Linked DNA regions of Homo sapiens: region 1 is linked to region 2. Evidence: promoter capture Hi-C in human tissues and cell types (Jung and others, 2019). All regions are on one chromosome and are shown on one strand. The core of a region is centred on a gene start or on the middle of the fragment in contact, and the rest is flanking DNA. Distances in the headings are between cores, read along the strand shown.

Region 1 (4,044 bases), core at 250-2,749, 44 kb before region 2:
TATTATTATTATCATATTTTGAAAAACCCAACATATAATTTAAAGATGAGACACGTTATTATTATTATTATTAATTATTATTATTGCTTTACATAGTCAAAATTAATGCAGACTTACATGGATATTTACTTTTTTTGTTGCTCTTTATTCCTTTCTGCATTTACACCTTCTTTCATCTGACTCATCTTTCTTTTGCCTTAAAAACTCCCCCTCTTTATTTTCTTTAGTAAGGATATGCTGCTAACAAATTATCTGTTTTTGCTTTTTGGAAGTGTCTTTATTTTATGTTTGTGTTTGAAGGATACTTTTGTTGGGTATAGAATTGTAGATTGTCAGCTATTTTCTTTCAGTCCTTTCAAAGTGTCATTCTGTTGTCCTTTGGCTTCCATTTTTCTGTTGAAAGTTAGTGATAGGTCTTATTTATGTTATTTTGAAATGAATATGTCCTTTTTATCTGGCTACATATAATATTTCCTTTTGTCCTTTGGTTTTCAGTTGTTTGTCTGTGAGTGTAGGCCTAGTTTCCTTTTTCGTAAGTGAGGGATCTTTTTTTTTAATAGACTACTTTTAAGAACAGTTTTAGGTTAACAGCAAAATTAAACAGAAGGTACAGAGAGTTCCCATGATAAATAAACCATAGTATGTTTATCAGTTCATATCATTCCCTTTTTATTTATTCTAATTGGAATTTGTAACTCATGCAAGTTGCGCTTGTCTCATTTCATTTGTCTCCAAAAATTATTGGTCAATATCTCTTTATGTATTACTCCTACCTCTTTTCTCTTTCTCCTGTCTTTCTGGGTTTCCGATTATGCATATGTTAGAGGCCATTTCTCCATGTCCCATATTCTCTTTTAGATTTTATACATTTTTCACTATTTGTCTCGCTGTGCATCAGTCTGGATATTTTCTTCTGACCTGCATTCTGGTTTACTAATTCTTGCTTCAGCTGTGCCCACTGTGCTGTTAAACTCATCTACTAAGTTATTTATTTACATTATAGAATGACTGTTTGATTCTTTTTATCATATCTAATTCTCCATTGAAATTATCCATCAGGTCATTTATTAATCACATTTAAACTTATAAATAACAGTTAACCTAAAGTCTATGTCTGGTAACTTTACTATGTGGCTTTTTCATGAATTTGTATCTATCATCTGTGTTTCTCTTGATTCTCACTCAATTTTATCTTTTTGCATGTTTGGTTGTCTTTGATTGAGTGACAGATACTATATTTGAAAATGTAATATTTTGAGGTTGTACAAGATGTTCTCTTCTTTCAGAGAAATTTGCTTTTCCTCCTGTCAGGCAGTTAGAGTAGAAGCAGATTATCATAGATCAGTCTGGGAATGATATGATTCCAAATTGGATGTGAGTGTTTATGAAGCTGATCTAGCCCTGCAAGGGTCAAAGCTGAAAGGGTGGTGTGTTTATCAAGGCCTCTTTTCTCAACAATGAGAGCTCCAATTTGTCCTCTTGCTATCTCACCTGAACTTTTGTGCTTATCTCTTGGTATCAGCCACACTCCTTTTACAGCAACCAGTCATAAAACCTCAAGAGTAATCTTTCAAAATACCTAATTCTCCCTCCTCAGAATTTATCAGCTACTCTCCAATTCCTAAATCAGTGGTTTCCAAAGTGTTTTCTGTGGAAATTCTTCTAGAACTTCCAGTAGGGATGTGGAAGTGGTCAAGCTGCCAGGGGGCTTGTGAACTCCCCCTTCACACACACATACACACACACACACACACACACACACAGAGAGACAGAGAGAGAGACTCCCACAGGGCAGTTTCTCATTGATCCGATTTCTATATTGCACTTCTCAGATTTTTATTTGAAGAACGGGGCTTGGAGCTAAAATGATTTGATAGCACTTGACTTAGATAATAGCATCTAAATTACGTACATGAGGCCGGGTACAGTGGTTCACACCTGTAATCCTAACACTTTGGAAGGCCAAGACAGGTAGACTGCTTGAGCTCAGGAGTTCAAGACCAGCCTGAGCAACATGGCAAAAACCCATCTCCACCAACAAACAAAATTAGCCAGGTGTGGTGGCGTATACCTGTAGTCCCAGCTATTCAGGAAGCTGAGGCAAGAGGATTGCTTGAGCCCAGAAGGTTGAGGCTACAGTGAGCCGAGATCATGCCACTGCATTCCAGCCCAGGAGACAAAGTGAGACCCTGTCTCAAAAAAAACATAAAAATTACAATAAATTATGAACATGGTATACAGAACTACTTATGATCTCACCTCAGTCTTATTTCTCGCCTCTCATCCCTCACCCCATCCTATGGCCACCCACCATTCTAACCATACTGAATTTTCTTGTCATTCTCTATGCATGGTCCAATTCCCCCATATTTCAGACATTCTATTTCCTGTCTGGAATATTTCTTGACCCAAGTTTGCTTAGCAAACGTCTACTGATCCTTCTCTGTTCAGTTCAAGTTACCTGCTTTGAGAAGCGATCCCTGAGTCCCAGACAAGACTTAGCACTCCTTATTCACTCTCCTGAATTTTGTTTTCACATCTATCCCCTGATTGTTGTTGATTTGCACATCCATCTCTGACTAGACAGTGAGCTCTTTGAGGCAAGGACTGCAGCTTTCATCTTTGTGCTGAACCCTGGGCAGTTTTTGTTGAACAAAGGACCATGCATACTTGGACAATCATAATTTCACATATTCTCTTTTATTCAAATGAATGCATAAATTGGCCCATATTTTTCTATATTTGAGGTCCAAATTGCATCTCCCAGACTATCTCTTAGCACCAATAAATGACATAAAGATCTTTTGTTATACTAAAAACCGTGAGTTTTCTGTTTAGAAAATACTGTCACCTTGATTATATACGTTTCACATATATAATCTGGCTGAGGACCCAGTAAGTACTCAGTATAGACTTGTTGACTAATTTCTACTGAGTGGGTTTTGTCCCTAGCCAAGCTCAAAAGGACTCAGTGTCCCTATAAAATATTCTTCATTTCATCTGGCTAGGCTTTGATGTGACAGGCTTCCCCCACTCTGAAAGCCATGAGAGACTATTGTGAGGTCCTCAAAAATTGACAACTCAAAGGTCAGACCTATAAAACTTCAAAATCTCTTGTAAATATGAGTCAGCACCTGAGTAATAAGCTTGTTTCTATTATAATTAATAATATTGCTGGGGTGGGCCATGTTCTGCACAGTAAGTACTCCTTGAGAAATCTAATTTTTGTACCTAGAACACTATTTTCAAAAGCTGTGGAGATTTTAGTTATGGGAGAATTCAATAACTTTAGTTATTAAAAATTTTTAATGAATCTAAAAACAAAACTCTGATGCTTGTTTCTTATGTCTGGATTTTTCCATATTTCCATATTTGGAGTTTGCTCCAAATATGGAAGGGCCTCCTATATTCTTTTACCATCCACCTCACCTCCACTGGCGCAAGGTGACCTCACTCCTGCCCTGGAGAGCTCAGGTGCAGAGACTTGCACTCTGCTGAGGGCGTCTGGAATGCCCTGTTGTTCATTCCTGTCGCTCAAAGTTCTGACCCCAGAGAAGATGCCAGGGCCCTGGGACGGGTCACTCTCTAAGCTGTTGTCAGTCATAAACACCCTAGGTGTAGGCAGGTTTTAACATCACCATATCAGAATAACTGAGGCTATGGACGCTTCTAGAAAACTTGAAAGGCAATCATGGATGCCAGGGCACTGAAACTTCCTCCACACATCTGCCACTTGCCCACCTTGCCCCTGGCTTTCTAATGCCACATCAGGATCTTACCTCCAGGTTGGCAGAGGGTGATGCCATCATGGTGGAAACTCAGCAACACCTGAGATGCCTGGAGCTATGCTTCTCAGACGGAGGCACGGACCCCCTGAAAGGGAGGTCCAGGGTGAGGAGGGATGTGGGAGTGATACAGGAGGGAGGCAGGAAAGTGCTGGGTAGAGAAAGGCAGGGTCCCTGGCAAAGGCTCTACCCTCAGGCCTGTGCCCACTGACCTAGGTGAGGACAGGTATTTCTGTTTCTGTGGCTAAATGTGGCATTT
Region 2 (3,799 bases), core at 1,121-3,620:
TTGTATTTTTAGTAGAGATGGGGTTTCACCATGTTGGCCAGGCTGGTCTCGAACTCCTGACCTCAGGTGATCCACCTGCCTCGGCCTCCCAAAGTGCTAGGATTACAGGCATGAGCCACCATGCCCGACTGAAATGTTTTATATCTTGATGGCAGGTATGGAGTACTTAAGTCTTTGCATTTGTCAAAGCTAGAAAAGCCATAAACTTGAAATCTGTGCATTACACTGCATATAAATAATACTTTAAATAATTTTAATGTTTGTGCAACACTTACCATGAAACATGTTAAAAGACAGGCTGGGAGAAGATATTTGCCATCTGCCCATCTAACAAGGTATTGTGGAGATTATATACATAAACATAAAATGTATGCTAACAACAGTATAAAAGATGGTAGGGATAACCTGTTGTAAGGTTATCACACCATATGTGAAGTGGCATAATTTATGTAGACTGTTAGAAAATTAAAGATGTATATTGTAAAACTGAGGACAACCATTTAAAATTATATGTAACTAGTAAGAGAATGGTGAAAAATAGAAATTACTAAGAAATAGAATACTAATATAAAAATAGAATTAAAAAAAAAAACCTCAACCTCAAAGCAGGCAGTTGGGGAGAGAGAGAGAGAGAGAGAGAGGTATCACTGAACACCTGGAACACACAGAAAATAACTAGTAAGATGGTAGATTTAAATGCAATCGTATTAGTAATCACATTAAATGTTTGGTGATATGATTAAGATCCAGAATAGATTTTTAATGAAATACCTATAAGCCAATAAGAAAAAGATCTCACAACAGAAACATTGGCAAATGATATGAAGAGGAAATTCACAGAGGAAGAAACCAAATGTCAGTAAACATGAAAAGATGTCCAACTTCATTAATCAGGGAAATACAAATACAAATTAAAATAATGAGCTACCATTTCACAGTCATCATGTCGGCAAACGTTCTGAGTCCATTATCAGTAAGTATGAGCCAGGATGGGGAAAGAGAAAATCACACGATAGTGGGTGTGTAAGTAGGCACCATCCCTTCAGTGAGCAGTTCGGGAAGCCGGGGAAAGATGAAGGTGCTCTTGCCATCCAGAGTCCCATGTCTAGGCGTCTCTAGAGACGCACTTTAGCAGTGCACAATGAGACATGCATGCAGATGTCGCTGGCAGCAGGTTTGTTCTCATTCCTCTAGGGGGAATGGAACGTAAACTGTAGTTTATGTATTCAATGAAATACTATATTGTGGGTAAAATGAATGAACCAGATATTCTTGTTTAAACATGTCTGTATCTCAAAAACAAAATGACCCATGGAAAAAAGCAAGTTGCAACAGGATAGGGACTGGATAATATCATTCACATAAAATGTAAAAATACCAAAACCAGTAGTGTGCATTGTTTACGAATGCACACATGTTAGTTAATGCATAAAGACCTGGGTGAGAACTCTAGCCTCCGGGAAGGGAGGGGACAGGATGCATAGCTCTGGCCTTACCTCTATCTGTAACTTTCCTTTTTTTTGTTTTTTGAGACGGAGTCTTGATCTGTCCCCTAGGCTGGAGTGCAGTGGGGCGATCTCGGCTCACTGCAACCTCTGCCTCCCGGGTTCAAGAGATTCTCCTGCCTCAGCCTCCCAAGTAGCTGGGACTACAGGGCCGCGCCACCACGTCCAGCTAATTTTGGTATTTTTAGTAGAGACAGGGTTTCATCACGTTAGCCAGGTTGGTCTCGATCTCTTGACCTCGTGATCTGCCCACCTCAGCCTCCCAAAGTGCTGGGATTACAGGCATGAGCCACCACGTCTGGCCATAACTTTCCATTATCTGAGCTGCCAGCATACTGAGTCCTGTTGCCTTCCAAGACCAGCTCCACTCCTGGGGTTCCATTAGGTAAACACAATGTCCTCTGCTCCCCCCCGCCGTCTTCCCTCACTTAAGTTAGTTCCAGTTGGGCTTCATCGCTAGTAACCAGGACGCCTGCCTATAGTTTCTTCTTTTTTTTTCCTTTTCAATTCATCCCCAGTTCTCGCCACCTCGTAGGTATTCAATTAATACATGTTTAAGTGGACCTGTCCAGGAAGGGGAGTTCTCAACTCTAAGCTCCTGCATTTCTTTTGGGACTTCTCATGGTTACAAAGAGCATTCATTCATACTGTGACTGAGGGTAAACAAGTCGCTGCCCACTCGGCCTCAGTTTCCTCCTAAATGACCCGTCTGGCCACTTCCAGCCCCAGCAGGGTCTGATTCTAGGAATTCGGTCCTTTCATGTCGAAAACAACACTCGGGCATTTCACAAAAGCACCCAACCCCCTGGCTCCCCTTGGAAGCACAGCCCGCGTCCCTGGAACCCGGGCTGCACTGAGCTGGTCACATGAACTCCGGGCTTTCTCTGGTGTGACGGGTTTCTTAGATCCCTTTGTGAGCGCAGGTTTTGAAAGGGAACGACCCCGGGTTCTGGGTGTGAGAGGCGCAGGGGATCGGCGGGAGGAAGGCTGTCGGAGCCAATCAAGCCGCCTCCAGACCCCAGCACGTCGCCTGGGCTGCGCGCTCCGACTGCGCCTCCGCCCGCGCGCCTCCCGGCCTCGCCCGAGGGTGCCTGGGCAGGCGAGGACCCCAGGTGAGAGGCCGGAGGGTCCTGGAGGGTGGGAGGCCCCGGCGGTTCGGCCCGGGCTCCACGACGGGCTGGCCCGGGCTCAGGGCGTGTCCGTCGCCGCCGGGCGGCTCGCTCGACACTGTTCGCTCCTACCGGCTGTAGATGGAGCTGTCTGGGTTCCGGCAGCCTCCGACGAGCCTCGGAGTGTTTCTCTTTAAACGGCCTGAGAGGGACATGCCTCCCAGGATGCAGTTTGTAGCAACATGGCAGCTGCTGTGCAGCTCCCCTGCTAAAGAGGCGCCGGGACGGCAGCGCAGCTCGCAGCCGGGGCCGGGGCCGGAGCTGGGGTCCCAGCCGCGGCCGCAGAGGGGCGGCGCGCGGGCCGGGGGCCGCCGTTGAGGGCCGGGGCCCAGCTCGCCGCCGGGACGCAGCCGGCCGGGCCGCCCGCACAGCCGCGCGCCCAGCTCCGACGCCGCCGCTCGGGCTCCGCGACCCCGCGCCCGCTCGCCCCGCGCGCCCCGAGCAGGCCGGGGCCCGACGGCCGCGCGCGAGCCCCGGCGGGGAAGACAGGGCTGGGCCGGCGCCGCCTGCGGAGAGCGCCGGGCGGCCGGGCCTGCGTGGGGCCGCGCGCAGTAGCGGCGGCGGCAGTAGCGGCGGCGACTCCGGGGGCCCGGGCCGGACAGCGCAGGGCCATGGCCGAGGCGGCCCCGGCTCCTGTGAGGGCGGCCCGCGCGCGCACGGACGCGCGGCCTCGGGGCCCCGGGGACGGCCTGCGTGTCCCGGGCTCGGCGGCCCGGCCTGGGATCTCGGTAAGGGGCAGAAACGCTACGACGTTGGCGCGGGGGGTGGGGGCGCCCTGGAGGGGGCCCGCGCGTCTTGACCCGGGCGGTGGGGGAGGGCTACGGGCCTCGCCGCCGTCCGTGCGAGGGAGGCTGCTCTCACGCCCGGCCCGGCACACACGCGGCCCCGAGGTGGGGCGCCCGGAGGCGCGCTCGCTCCCTGCGGGGCCCGCGCTGCGTCCGTCGGGGTAGCCGCCGGCACGTTTTCCGCAGAGCTCGGCCCCGCGGAGCCTTCCCCGGCCCGGGCGCGGCGCTGACGCGGCTCTCCCATTTCGCAGAACGGAGACACTGAGGCACAGACACCTGGCGGCGACCCGCCCTGCCGGCCCCAAGGTCACGTAGCAAGGCATCCGTGGCACGGTGCGGC

What was found. Contacts are between HindIII fragments. The study calls those that stand out against the background at their distance.
Region 1: a fragment that was not itself captured here is called in contact with the fragment with the promoter of ZNF777 in region 2 in 1 of the 25 tissues and cell types used here (mesendoderm cells).

What each region holds. Positions count from the first base shown.
Region 1 is chr7:149,502,032-149,506,075 of GRCh38, reverse strand. No RefSeq gene overlaps it. Among named protein-coding and RNA genes, the nearest start is that of ZNF746, 6.2 kb to the right of the region's middle. The HindIII fragment of the contact is 6,744 bases long and covers 1-4,044 here.
Region 2 is chr7:149,459,633-149,463,431 of GRCh38, reverse strand. ZNF777 (zinc finger protein 777) reads left to right here and starts at 2,370. Exons shown (of 6, transcript NM_015694.3): 1 at 2,370-2,617. RefSeq lists silencers at 2,390-2,729, 2,900-2,969, 3,260-3,339, 3,350-3,709. The HindIII fragment of the contact is 12,669 bases long and covers 1-3,799 here.